Linked DNA regions of Homo sapiens: region 2 is linked to region 1. The links are contacts of gene promoters, found by promoter capture Hi-C in blood cells and fetal thymus (Javierre and others, 2016). All regions are on one chromosome and are shown on one strand. Each heading gives the region's core, a stretch centred on a gene start or on the middle of the fragment in contact. The rest is flanking DNA. Distances are from core to core; before and after follow the strand shown.

Region 1 (6,753 bases), core at 3,914-6,413:
AGAGAGGAAAGACAAGGAGTGGTAATTATTGGTGGCTTATTTTTATTTTATTTCTTATAGTTTTCTGTATTTTCTAAACTTTTGTAGATGTGATTATTGTTTTTCAAATCAGCTGGTCTCTTCTTTTTTTGCTGTCTACCACAGGCCAGTCAGTATATGTAGTACGAGGCACCAGCCCAAATCACCAGTCCCACTGCCATCAAGTCTGAGTTCTAAGCTCGGACCATTCTACAGCACTGTGAATGTCTCAGGGGTGCTCCCTTAGGCTAGTGAGAACACATTGAGGGCAGGAGTTTGAAGCTTCAATCAAGTTGGATGTAGGGACTGAGTGTTTAGGGGGAGGGGAAGGAGGAAGGAAATGAAGCTTTTAGCTTCTCCTCCTTTTGCGTGGAAACCCCACCACTGACAGACAGAGCAGCAGACACAGACAGACGGAAGCGAAAACCAGACAGGAACAAAGAAAAGACAATTCGGACTTAGTGCTCAGTGGATGCACCAACATCTGAATGTAGGTCCAGACCCAGACCTTTCCCTGTTCAGAATCCAGGTTGTCAAGCCTGTCTCTTATTTCACAGTCCTCCGTCACTCTGCTACATGATAACCACTTTCTCCCCTCCACCTCCTCTAGTCACCAATGTCAACCATTTCTGCTGCTGACACTGCCCTGCCTTTGACAAGTCACAAAATGAGAACAAGCCTGGGTTCGGGTTGTCCCCTTGGGGAAACAGAGAAGTGCCTCCTAACTTGAAAATTGTGCTGCTCCCTTCCACCTGGACTTCAGGAGTCTCCAATCAACACCCACCTTCACAGCAACCTACAAGGATCTGGATGGGTTTCCTCCCTGTCCTCCTCCACCTTCTTTGGCCACAGTCACACCACCTTTAAGGAAACAGGGAGCTGGTAGCTGAGGAGGAACCGCTATTTGGACCAACACACCAGCATGTCAGCTCCTGGTCACGTGAAGCCACGTCACTGGTGAGTCTGGGTCCCAAATTTCCCCTCCCATTATTTGCAAGGCCCCTCACTCCCCCGCCTTCCCTCCCACCACCTCCACCATGCAGGGCACTGTCACTCGTTTTCTTTTTAGTCTTCGTGCACACAACAAAAGTGTCATCTTTCTCTGATTACCAGAAGAAACAGCATCTTCTCCTGAGCTACTGGTCATTTCTGCTTCTCTGGGAAACGGGCCCATCCTCTTCTCTGCTCCCTTCACCACTTCCATTTGGGCTCACTAATGTTCATCTCTGCAGTCCTGAAAATACCTGGAAATGAAGATGAGGGAGGGAGTGTCAGGAAAGGAAACAGTAGGAATGGATTCTGTTACTTTCTTGTTAACACCATTCTGTTCTTTGTTATACAAACATGCATTTTTATTATTGAAAAATGTTAAAGAACTATTTCCATTCAAGAAAAATGATTCACTTTTATTAAATGGCATATATCATAAACAATAATTCTCACTGCATAATGAGTTCTGCACATGTCACTCAAAGCAATCTTAAGTTTTCTACATCTTGTCCCATGACAACATCCTGATTAGGTAATCACTCATTTGAGAGTTTACAAATCTGATGATATGCCAGAACCAACTAGGCTTTTTTCTGGAGTGTAAAGGTGGTTGAGTGTTGGAAAGCCATTCATTCATTTATTCATTTATTCAACATGTGTACTGAGCAGGTACTACATGCCATGCATTGTTCTTGATGCTGTGGTTACAGCGGTGAATAGAGATGACCTAAATTTCTAACCTCATAGTTCTTACTTTCTAGTGAAAGAGACAACCAACCAACAAGATAAAACATATAGTATATTGTTATTAATAAGTACTAAAGAAAAAATAAATGGCAGGAAAGAAGATATGAAAAGTCAAGATGGGATGAACTTTTAGAAAGGGTGACCAAGGAAGGACTCACTAAAAAGGTGACCTTTGAGTAAAGATCTGAAGTCTGTGAGGGATCTAACTAAGTGTGGTGATGTGGGATGGAAATACATCCCAGGTAAGGAGACGAGCAACTGAAAAGGCTCTGTAAAGGGAACATGTCCAGTATATTCCAGGAACATCAAGAAAGCCAAGATGACTGAGTAGGGTGAGTTAGATAGAGAGAGAGAAGTAGATTAGGCAGAAAAGTAGTAAGATTGAACAGGGTAGGGCCTTGTCAGTTATAATAAGGACATTTATATTTCCTCTAAACAACACAGTAAGTGGGTGGGGAGTTTGAACAAGGGACATGTGTCTGGATATGTTGAGAATAAACTATAGGAAGAGAAGAGTGACAGGGAGACTGGCCTGTCTACATCATTCCTGACAACAGCAAACCAAAGAAGAAAAGAAACCTCATAATGAAAGCATTTGATAAAATAAGTAACCATTCCTAATTTAAAAAAAAAGTAAAATAGGAATAAGAGGGAACTTCATTTATGTAGTAAAGAATTATACGTAATTTAATGAGTCGTTCTTAGATGAATTAAATTAGATATAAAAGAAAATATCCTTAACCTGATGAAGAAGATATCAGGAGCTCTTCTGATCTGGCAGATTCATCCCTTTCTCTGGACTATCAAGATTACAGAACTTAATGACTTGCCTCCATTCACTGATAGTATTTCTTTGTACTACGTGTGTGTGTGCACGTGCGACAGAGAGAAAGAGAGGGACTAGTAAACATAAGTGAAATTAGCCTTGAAAAAAAAATACATCAATCACAAACAACAAAAGTTATACTAAATAATGAAACAAAAGAGGCATTCCCACTGTCTTCAAGAACAAGATCAGGAGGCTCGTAAGGAAGTTCTAGTCAATGCCAGTCATTAAGTTCTGTGATCTTGGTAGACCACAGGGAGGGACGAATCTGCCAGATCAGAAGAACTTCTGATATATTCTTCATCAGGTTAAGGATATTTTCGTTTATGTCTAATTTAACCAAGAATGACTCATGCAGAAGAAGAAAGAAAAGGGGGCATAAATGTTGGAAAGGAAGAAATGAAAAATCATCATTTACAAATGATTATATATAATACCAAGATAAACCAAAGGTATCACTTTAAATTAGAATTAATAAAACAGATCACAAAAATTTGGAACTTGATTAATAAGCACAAACGCACTACTAATGTGTCTAAAAAGAAAGTTGGAAACTGTTGACAGTGGCTGGGAGTGGAAAAGATAACAAAAGTTTCTTTCCCTGTATACTTTATATATTTCCTTATTGTTTTGAATATTTTTAACCACTAATATATAATACTTGTATTACCAGAACAAAATACAAGATTCCTAATCTGGACTATTATATATATATAACACAGACCCTCTTGGCCATTGTATTAGCTCTTAATTTTTTGCAGGGCGGGGGTTACAGACCCCTTGAGAAACTGATGAGGTCAGTGATCTCTGTTCCTGAAAAAAATGCATTTAACCACACATATAATCCCAAACAAAGCTTTGCAGGTGAATGCAATTTCAGGTGGTCTACAGAGTTGACCGGGTGAGAACACCTACTCTGGGTTCATCAGTGGGGATTGTTCCCTGGGCATACATTTGGTTGAGAGGGCACCAAGGTGGATGTGTACTGGCAGGCAGTAACCTTGCAGGAAGGCTAGACTCTTCCTAGGTCCCCTGGAGCTAAGGAGGCAGAAGTGAGAGGCCCAGGAGGATGCATCTCTTAGGCCAAGTGGTAGTAGCAGACAGTGTTTGGAGCAAGGTTCACTGGTAACCACGAATAAGGACAGACAGCAGTCAGGCCTGGGAACTTCCCCCAACAATCACTTTTTGTGTGATCACAAAAACCTTTTTGTGAAATCACAGGTTTCACAAATCGTCAGCTGCAGGGTCAGGTAAGAACAGCAATCCTTTCTATGCATCAATGGGTTTCCTCTGGGAACTTGGGGGAGGGACGGAAAGAGCCAAAGACATTTAACCAGGTCTGCATCTTGGTCACTTGTCTGGATATATTTTGGGTGTGAGCAACTGAGCCAGGTACCTGAATGCAGGAGATGAGCGGCTCTGGCATATGGGAGGGAGTAGAGAGACAGCATCTCCCTCCTCCTCCTGACAGGGCAGGGAGGATTTGACCACTCTGCACCCACCACACTCAGTTTCCTTGGCCTCACAGCTCTTCCTTTTGCCCAGAGTTGAATCATTAACTGGAACCTAATCCGAAGACAGGTGTTTAAAACTGTCATGGTTACAGCCATCAAATTACAGGAGGTTCACACACAGCAGTCAGCAATGGTTTGGGAATATTAAATAAATGTGTTTCTCTAACAGGACAAGACAGGATCATTTATTTATGCAACTTAAAAGCTGTCCCAGAAGGAGAAAAAAGTAGCGTATTATTTGTCCAAAATAAACAAGATTGAAGAACTGAACATCTCTCTGTGGATCAATTTACAGATCACATGGAAATATGCTTATCTTATTGAGAAATATTCCATTTTAGATGTTCAAATACCTTAGCATATTTTAAAAACTATTTCCTATGTGACCAAAAGAATTCATGTTCTATTCGGTAAAAATTAACCAAAATTAATGGTGCTTTCCAATGGACGCAGGAAACCTTTTTTCTTTACAAAACATGCCCACCCTTTTTTTGTTGCTACTTCCCACATTGAATTCTTGTTTTACTGAATTTTCTTACTATAAAAATAAAGCATGATGATAGTTTTGAAAACAAAACAGAAGTATTTGAGAAGTACAGACCCCACTCCCACTCCTTGTCTCCTTTCTGACACTCTGCCCCTTAACTATACTGGAACAGGGAGTCAACTGCAAGGAAAATCCTGGGGACTAGGGGCTGAGGAACTAGAGGTGGAGAGATGGAAGAGTGTCCAGTAGCCCAGGAAAGGATGAAACAATTCCCCAACAAAAAAGTAAAAATTTTCAGTAGCCCTCCGAGAAGATGCAGCCCCTCCCAGGTAACCAGAGAAAGGCAAATTGTGAAAGCAGGGAGAAGGGGCTACTTTAGGCCTCCAGGACTACAAAGACAAAAAAATGAGTGACAGGACCTGATGTGGTGGGGTGAGATGGGAATGGAAGTAAAGGAGGGGGCTCGTACTCTTGGTGGGAGTGGAAATTGGGGACCCAAGCTTACTGGCGATGCAGCCCTCACGTGACCAGGAGCTGACGTGGGCAAAGGTACTTAAAGCCCTGACCGTCGTTCTCCGTCCTCCTCTGGGTACCAACTCTATTGCGCAGCTCGCTGCCGTGCGTTTAACCCAGGCGAGGAGGAGGAGGAGAAAATTCCCCCAGATTCGGGCAGGTGGGTGTGAGGGTGGGCACAGTCTGGGACCCCTGAATAGGGGTAATCTAGGGATGCGGGAGTCGGAGGCCGCGGGTGCCTCGGTCTCCCCCACTCCTGGCCGGCTTTCCAGACCTGAGGTGCTCAAACGCGGCTCATTTTGGTGGGCGGTGGGGAAAGGGGGAGGGGGAAACGAAAAGACTTTTGATAGACTTTACGAAGAATCCGCTTACTTCCTTTCCAGCCAGTGTTTTTTGGTTTTGTTTATAATATTCAGGCCCGCACCCCACATTCCGTCCTGTTTTGAGAGGAGGAGGGAAGAGAAATAAACGTGGCAGCGCATAGAAGGCCAGCAGGGAGGTTGGGAAAGGGTAACCAGGAGGCGGGGGTGGGGCATGCAATTTGGTAACAATCTGGGCGGCACACTCCCACCCTGACTTTCCCCACCACCGCCCCGGCACCCTCCCATCCCCCAGCCGACCCTCTGTGATTTGGGAGTGCTGGGAAATGGGTGTACCAGCTGCTGTTGGAGAGGTGGCGGGTTTGGCGCTGTCTGGGCTTCACGGGAGGTGGGGGGGAGGGGGCGGACCCTGAGAGAATCTGGTATTAAACCGCCTTGTTAACTCGCAGACTGCTTTCCAGACACCTCCGGCCCACACAGCCGTTCACCCCCCGTCTTTTCAGTCCTGGAAAAGGAATTCGGGTATGCAGGCGGGAGAAATGGCGGTTGTTGGGGGGATTTGTGGGAAGTGGGAGGTAGAGCCCATAGCAGAGAAATCGTGGAAAATCTCGACCCTGAACCCGAAAAGGCAGACGTTGAGGCCCCTCTTCTGCAGGCTAACGCTAGGCCTAGGGGCTGGGGAGCGAAAGATGGGTGATCCTGGGAGGGGAACACTGAATTGTTTGGCAGGAGTCCCCCATACCGCGTCCCATCCAGCTTTTGCTGCACCCTCGCCCCGCTCCCCTCCCGCTTCGTTGCAGGAGAAGGGGTGTGGCGGTGTGTCCTGGAGAAATGGCGGACGGGGGCGGGGCAAAGCGGAAGGAGGGATTGAGTGCCTGGGGAGCCTGCGCAGGAGGAGGATTGAGGTGGGAGGGGTGGGGTGAGAAGAGTTGAAGGAATTGAGAGGTAGAATCATTTGACATTCTGATGTGCAAACACGAAAAGGCAGTTACTGAGACCCTTGTCCTGGATGCTGATCCATCCACCAGGCTTTCATTGTCTAACGTCGACAGTCTATATTTCTGCTCTTCAGTCTGTCCTTAGGATGAAGCTCTAACTGAACTGAAGTAAGGAGAAACAGCCTTGAATCTTTGGAGGGTCAGTGCTGGGGTTGGAATTGTCTGGGGCCCCCTGGTGTGGGTGTGGCAGAGACAAGAGTAGAGTATGGGACCAGAGGCTCCTCCTGCATCTTCTCTCTTTTAATTTCAAAGACACCCTTGCCCCAGGCCCTTTCTTTTTGGTGCAGAGAAAGGGGCGTGGCATCTGCCTTAGTTAATATTTGGGGGAGGAGAGGCTGAA
Region 2 (7,116 bases), core at 1,157-3,656, 230 kb after region 1:
TGAGTGAGTTCTCCCTCTTTCAAAACTGGATTCATTCCCTTAGGAATGAATTAGTTCCCACAAGAGTAGGATTTTATAAAGCCAGGATGCCCCTAAGGTTTTGCCTCTTCACATGTGTTCACTTCCCCTTTGACCTTCTCTGCCATGTTATGATGTGTCAAGAAAGCTCTCGGCCAGGCACAGTGGCTCATGCCTGTAATCCCAGCACTTTAGGAGGCCAAGGCAGGCGGATCACCTGTGATCAGGAGTTCGAGACCAGCCTGGCCAACATGGTGTAACCCCATCTCTACTAAAACTACAAAAAAAATTAGCCAGACACAGTGGCGTGCACCTGTAGTCCCAGCTACGTGGGAGGCTGAGGCAGGAGAATTGCTTGAACCTGGGAGGTGGAGGTTGCAGTGAGCCAAGATTGCACCATTGCACTCCAGCCTGGGCGACAGAGCAAGACTCTGTCTTGAAAAAAAAAATGAGAGAGAGAAAGCTCTCACCAGAAGCTGAGGCCATGCCCTTGAACTTCCCAGCCTGCAAAACTAAATAAACCTCTAAATAAACCTCTTTTCTTTATAAATTACACAGTCTCAGATATTCTGTTATAGTAACACAAAATAAACTAAGACACAAAGTAAACATGTTTAGCTATAGTAGATTTTAAAAACACTGAGTCTTAGACCTCTATTCCCTTCCTAGCCTGGCTTTTTTATTTTAGAGATGTTAACTTTATTTTTCCCCACAAAATGAAAATTATATGTACTCTCTATAGAAAATTGGAAAATACAACAAACTAGAAGGAAAGGAAATCAAAACTCTTGTAACATAGGGTTCAAATAAGCTCTCTCCTTTCTGAGATTTGGCATTGACTCAAGAATGCAGCTAGAGAGTTTCTGGAAAAGTCACTGGACAGACCATCAAGCATAAAACCAACAATGTAGTCCTTAAATGTGATTATACAGATCTATGTTTATCAATGAAAAAGTATGATCAGGACCTATTTTTAGGATATATTTTAGAGTGATGGTTAAGATCATGGGCTTTGGAGTCAGACTACCTGGCTCCAAACCTAGCTAGCTCTTTGTCCTTAAACAAATGACACAACTTTGCTGTACCTCCATTTTACCATCTGTGACAAGGGGGTGATAATAATAATACCTACCTCATAGAGCTGCTTTGGGGATTAAATAAAACACTAGAACACTTAGAGAAGCACTTAGAAAAAAATAAAGCTTGGCTCATAGTAAATTTACCATCAACAACCAGAAGTGAGCCATCAACATTTCTCAGCAGTCCTTCTATTTTTCTCTGGTCAACCTACAACCTGCTCTCACCCTTACAACTCATTGAACCTTCTCCATTCTCTTCAGCCTTCCAACTCCTCCTCCTTATTATCTCTACATGCAGATGACCACACCCTCATTTACAGAAAAAATAACGGGGTTGGGGGAGCCTTTAGAAGGAAGTTGTCTCTCATCTTCCTAACACCAAACATAAACCAACTATACCTGCACACATCCTACCAGCAGTTAGTTCCTCAATTAAGACAGAGATGCTCTTGCCTTTTAGTGAACACTAATTCCTCCACCTATGCTTTCGATTCCAGATGCTCCTCTCTCTTAGCAAACGTACTCTATGATTTATCCCATCTCTCTGCTGTATTTTTAACCACTCACTCCCTACAGACCCTTAATTGTAAACTTTACACATCCACAAAATTTCTCCATTAAAAAAAGTCCTTGGCTGGGTGCAGCAGCTCAAGACTGTAATCCCAGCACTTTGGGAGGCTAAGGCAGGCAGATTGCTTGAGCCCTGGAATTCGAGACCAGACTGGGTAACATGGCAAGACCCCATGTCTACAAAAAATGCAAAAATTAGCCCAGCGTGGTGGTGTGCGCACCTCTAATCCCAGCTACTCAGAAGACTGAAGTGGGAGAATCGCCTGAGCCCAAGAAATCAAGGCTGCAGTGAGCTGTGATTGTGCCACTGCACTCCAGCCTGGGCAACAGCGTGAGACCCTGTCTCAAAAAAATAAATAAATAAATAATTTGAAAGGCCTCTCTTGACCCGTAGTCTCGCTCCTGCTTCTACCCTGACTTTTCCATGCCCTTCACAGCCAAAGTGCTTCAAATAGCTGCCTATATTCTTTGTTTCCATTACTTGCCTACCGGCTGGGCGCAGTACCTCACACCTGTAATCCCAGCACTTTGGGAGGCTGAGGTAGGCGGATCACCTGAGGTAAGGAGTTCAAGACCAGCCTGGCTAACATGGTGAAACCCCGTTTCTACTAAAAATACAAAAAATTAGTCGGGCATGGTGGTGTGCGCCTGTAATCCCAGCTACTCGGGAGGCTGAGGCAGGAAAATTGCTTGAACCCGGGAGGCGGAAGTTGCAGTGAGCCGAGATCGCACCATTGCACTCCAGCTTGGGCAACAAGAGTGAAACTCCGTCTCAAAAAAAAAAAAAAAAAGTGCCTTCCTCTCTCTGCTAACCACACTCCAATCTGTTCCATTCTAGATTTCTGCCCCGTCATTCCATGAAAATAGATCCATCCAGGACACCAATGCCTCCATATTCTTAAATGCAACACATATTTACCAGTCCACATCTTATTTGACCTCTGAGCAGCAATGGACATTGTTAACAGTCCATTCCCTACATCTTGAAACAGTTTCTTTCTTTGGCTTCAATGACACAAGTCCCTCCTAACTTTCTTTTAAACCTCCCTGGCTGCTGTTTCCCAGTCTCCTTTGCAGGCTGACTCTCCTGTACTCCACATGAAATACTGGAGTTTCTCAAGCCTCCTTCTTTGATCTCCTGCATTCTCACTCTGATACTCTTTGGCCTAGACAACCTTATCCCCACACATGGCTTGAATTATCAACTATATCCATATAGCACACAATTTATATATCCAATATATAGGCCCCTTCTGAGCTCTAGATCCATCCATCCAACTACCTATATTCTCTTGGGTGTTCTCAAAGGCACGTCAAACACAGTATGTCTAAGACTAAACTCACAGTCCTCATACCTGAACTTAGTATTCAATGTGATCTTAAAGGTCCTGCTTCTTAATGCTGTTACTCCAAACATCCAGTTGTACAAGCCAGAAACTGAGAAGTCACCCTTGACCGCTCACTCTCACTGTAAGATACAGGGGGGAGTAAACAAAATGTGGATTTTCCTATACTCTCTATTTAATATAGAATGCTTCTGTAGCCCCAGATGTATGGGAGAATTTTCCCATACATCAAGCAATCAGTTTTGCAGTGGACACCAGCTGGATGTCCTCTAATTGAATTCAGTTCTGTTACTACCTACCTGGAGATAGTGTCAGATCCCACAGTTTGAGAGCTCAGGCTCACAAGACTGCTCTCCACTTCAGATGCCAGGTTGTAAGCTATGCTTCTGACTGACCCACTGTAAATCAGGGTTCCCATGACCCTCCCCTTGGGTTTGATTAATTTGCTAGAGAGGGTCACAGAACTCTGAAAAACATGTTTACAGGTTTATTATAAAGGATATTACAAAGCATATAGATGGACAGCCAGATGGAACAATCACATAGGACAAGGTACAGGATAAGGGGCACCAAGCTTCCATGCCCCCTACAAGCACAGCACCCTCTAGGTACCTCCATGTGTTCGCTATCCAGAAGCTCTCCAAACCCAATTCTTTCGGGTTTTTATAGACTTTACAGCCAGGCACGGTGGCTCACGCCTGTAATCCCAGCACTTTGGGAGGCCGAGGTGGGTGGATCACATAAGGTCAGGAGTTCGAGACCAGCCCCACCAACATGGCAAAACCCTGTCTCTACTAAAAATACAAAATTTGCCAGGCGTGGTGGTGCATGCCTGTAATCCCAGCTACTTGGGAGGCTGAGGCAGGAGAATCGCTTGAACCCGTGAGATGGAGGTTGCAGTGAGGCAAGATCACGCCATTATACTCCAGCCTGGGCAACAAGAGTGAGACTCCATCTCAAAATATAAAAATAAAAAATAAATAAAATAGAGGCTTTACTATGTAGGCATGATTGATTACATCATTGGCCACTGCTAGTCAATTTAACCTTCAGCTCCTCTCCCTTCCCCAGAGGCTGGGGGTGTGGTGAAAAAGTCTCAACTCTCTAATCCTGCCTTGACCAGCGCCCCCGTCCTAAATCTACCTAGGAGCCTCAGCCACCAGTTATCTCATTAGCATGCAAAAGATACTTTTTTATTTTTATTTTTATTTTTATTTTTTTGAGACGGAGTTTCACTCTTGTTGCCCAGGCTAGAGTGCAATGGCGTGATCTCAGCTCACTGCAACCTCCGCCTCCCAGGTTCAAGCGATTCTCCTGCCTCAGCGTCCCAAGTAGCTGGGATTACAGGCATGTGTCACCATGCCCGGCTAATTGTGTATTCTTAGTAGAGATGGGGTTTCACGATGTTGGTCAGGCTGGTCTCAAACTCCTGACCCCTGGTGATCCGCCCACCTCGGCCTCCCAAAGTGCTGGGATTACAAGCGTGAGCCACCACCCAGGGCAAAAGATACTCTCATCACCTCAGAGATTCTAAGGGTTTTAAAAGCTGTAATTCGCGAAAATGAGGATGAAGACTACCATGGTTTGAATGTTTGTCTTCTCCAAAACTCATGTTAAAATTTAATTGCCCCATGGGCATGGTGGCTCACGCCTGTAATCCCAGCACTTTGGGGGGCCGAGGCCAGTGGATCGCCTGAGGTCAGGAGTTCAAGACCAGCCTGGCCAACATGGTGAAACATTGTCTCTAGTAAAAATACAAAGATTAGCTGGGCATGGTGGTGGGCGCCTGTAATCCCAGCTACTCGGGAGGCTGAGGCAGGAGAATCGCTTGAGCCCAGGAGGTAGAGGTTGCACTGAGCCAAGATTGCGCCACTGCACTCCAATCTGGGCAACATAGTGAGACTCCGTCTCAAAAATATATATATATAAATAAAATAAAAATGAAAAATTTAATTGCCATTGTAATGAAATCACCTTTGCAAAATTATAACTGAGGAAATTATGACAGTGAAAGAAATCAGACCTAACCGACTCCACCTTGCTTCTAACCTTTAAGCTGTCCTTGTTCATTCCTGGGCATAGGTCAAACTAACTTTGGGAAGGAATTCAGTTTGTGGTTTGATTCTGAAACAAAATTGATCATAGGCGTTTCTTTCCTGGGGACTAGTCTGCCTGTGCAGGACTAACAAATTAGCTACAAGATTAGAAATTACAGTTTAGGGGTCATGCAGCCTCTGGCTCCAAGAGTCTGAACCTCCCCAAATTGCTCCTGGGGATAACATCACTATTGTGAAACCTAAGATCAGTGCCTGAGATACTTTTCAGACCCTGAACTCGATGGAGCAGCTGACACCACCCAGACCTGTAATCTGGCTCAACCAGTTCTGCCATCCCACCCAGAACACAAAACTGCAAGAAAGACTCACTTCGACCCCCTATGATTCCATCTCCAACCTGACTGATCAGCACTCCGTACTTCCCAAGCCCCTACCCACCAAGTTATCTTTAAAAACTCTGATCCCAGCCAGGCACGGTGGCTCACGCCTGTAATCCCAGCACTTTGGGAGGCTGAGGCGGGTGGATCACCTGAAGTCAGGAGTTCGAGACCAGCCTGGCCAACATGGTGAAACCCCATCTCTACTAAAAAATACAAAAATTGGCCTGGCATAGTGGCGGGCACCTGTAATCCCAGCTACTCGGGAGGCTGAGGCAGGAGAATCGCTTGAACCCGGGAGGCAGAGGTTGCAGTGAGCCGAAATCACATCATTGCACTCCAGCCTGGGCAACAGAGCAAGACTCTGTCTCAAATAATAATAATAATAATAATAATAATAATAATAATAATAACTGATCCCCCAAATGCTCTGGGAGACTGATTTAAGTAATAACAAAACTCTGGTCTCCTGCACAGCCGGCTGTGTGTGAATTACTCTTTCTTCATTTCAACTCTCCTGTCTTGATAAATCTCTGTCTAGGCAGCAGGCAAGGTGAACCCACTGGGCGGTTGCAGTAATAGTATTAAGAGGTGAGACTTTTAAGAGGTGATTAAGCCATGAGGGCTCTACCCTCACAGGTGGGATTAATGCCATTATAAAAGGGCAAGATCGGTCTCCTCTTGCTCTATCTCTTGGCCCTTCTTTCTGTCTTCTGCCATGTCATGATCTAGCCTTCCTCCCCTCTGGAGGACACAGTGTGTGCAGGGACCATCTTGGAAAAAGAGAATGGCCTCACCAGACACCAAACCTGCCCACACCTTAACCTTAGACTTCCTATCTTCCAGAACTGTAAGGCAATAAATTTCTGTTTATAAATTACCCACTATCGGGTATTGTTATAGCAGCACAAAACAAACTAAAGACTAAATGTGTACTTCACAATATCACACTCCCTCCCTCCCAATTCCAATCCATTGCCAAGTCCTGCAGATTTTACCTCCTAAGAAACCCTAAAATATACCAATCCCCTCCATGTAAACCATGGCTATTGTAGTACAAGCTACTATTACCTCTACTCTAGATTGTTGAAATGGCTTCTAATAAAACTCTCCATACATTCTGACTCCTTCCCAATCCTTTATCCACACTGTAGCCAGGGCAATATTTTCTTTTCCTTTCTTTTTTTTTTTTTTTTTTTTTGAGACAGAGTTTTGCTCTTGTTGCCCAGGCTGGTGTGCAATGGCGCGATCTCAGCTCACCACAACCTCTGCCTCCCGGGTTCAAGCGATTCTCCTGCCTCACCCTCCCGAGTAGCTGGGATTACAAGCATGCACCACCATGCCCGGCTAACTTTTTGTATTTTTAGTAGAGACGGGGTTTCACCATGTTGGTTGGCCAGGCTGGTCTCGAATGCCCGACCTCAGGTGATCCACCTGCCTCAGCCTCCCAAAGTGCTGGGATTACAGGCATGAGCCACTGTGCCTGGCCCCCAGGGCAATATTTTCAAAGACAAATCTGATTCGTTCTCCCCATCCCACAGGGCTTCCAATGGCTCTTAGGATATAGACTGAATGGCTTAAGATGGCTTGTAAGGCCCTGCATGCCCTGACCCAACACACTGCTGTCCCAACTGCCTGTTGAACTCCAGCCACTTTCATTCAGTCTCTT

Evidence for each region. Contacts are between HindIII fragments. The CHiCAGO score rates a contact against its expected background, and 5 or more counts as called.
Region 2: a fragment that was not itself captured here is called in contact with the fragment with the promoter of ARMCX2 in region 1 in 1 of 17 cell types (M0 macrophages); the score reaches 5.0 in M0 macrophages.

The regions. Positions count from the first base shown.
Region 1 is chrX:101,658,260-101,665,012 of GRCh38, reverse strand. ARMCX2 (armadillo repeat containing X-linked 2) reads left to right here and starts at 5,163. Exons shown (of 6, transcript NM_177949.4): 1 at 5,163-5,255; 2 at 5,512-5,594; 3 at 5,865-5,937; 4 at 6,488-6,552. The HindIII fragment of the contact is 4,840 bases long and covers 5,085-6,753 here.
Region 2 is chrX:101,420,736-101,427,851 of GRCh38, reverse strand. It overlaps a transcript of ARMCX4 not described here. Among named protein-coding and RNA genes, the nearest start is that of HNRNPH2, 16 kb to the right of the region's middle. The HindIII fragment of the contact is 2,367 bases long and covers 1,223-3,589 here.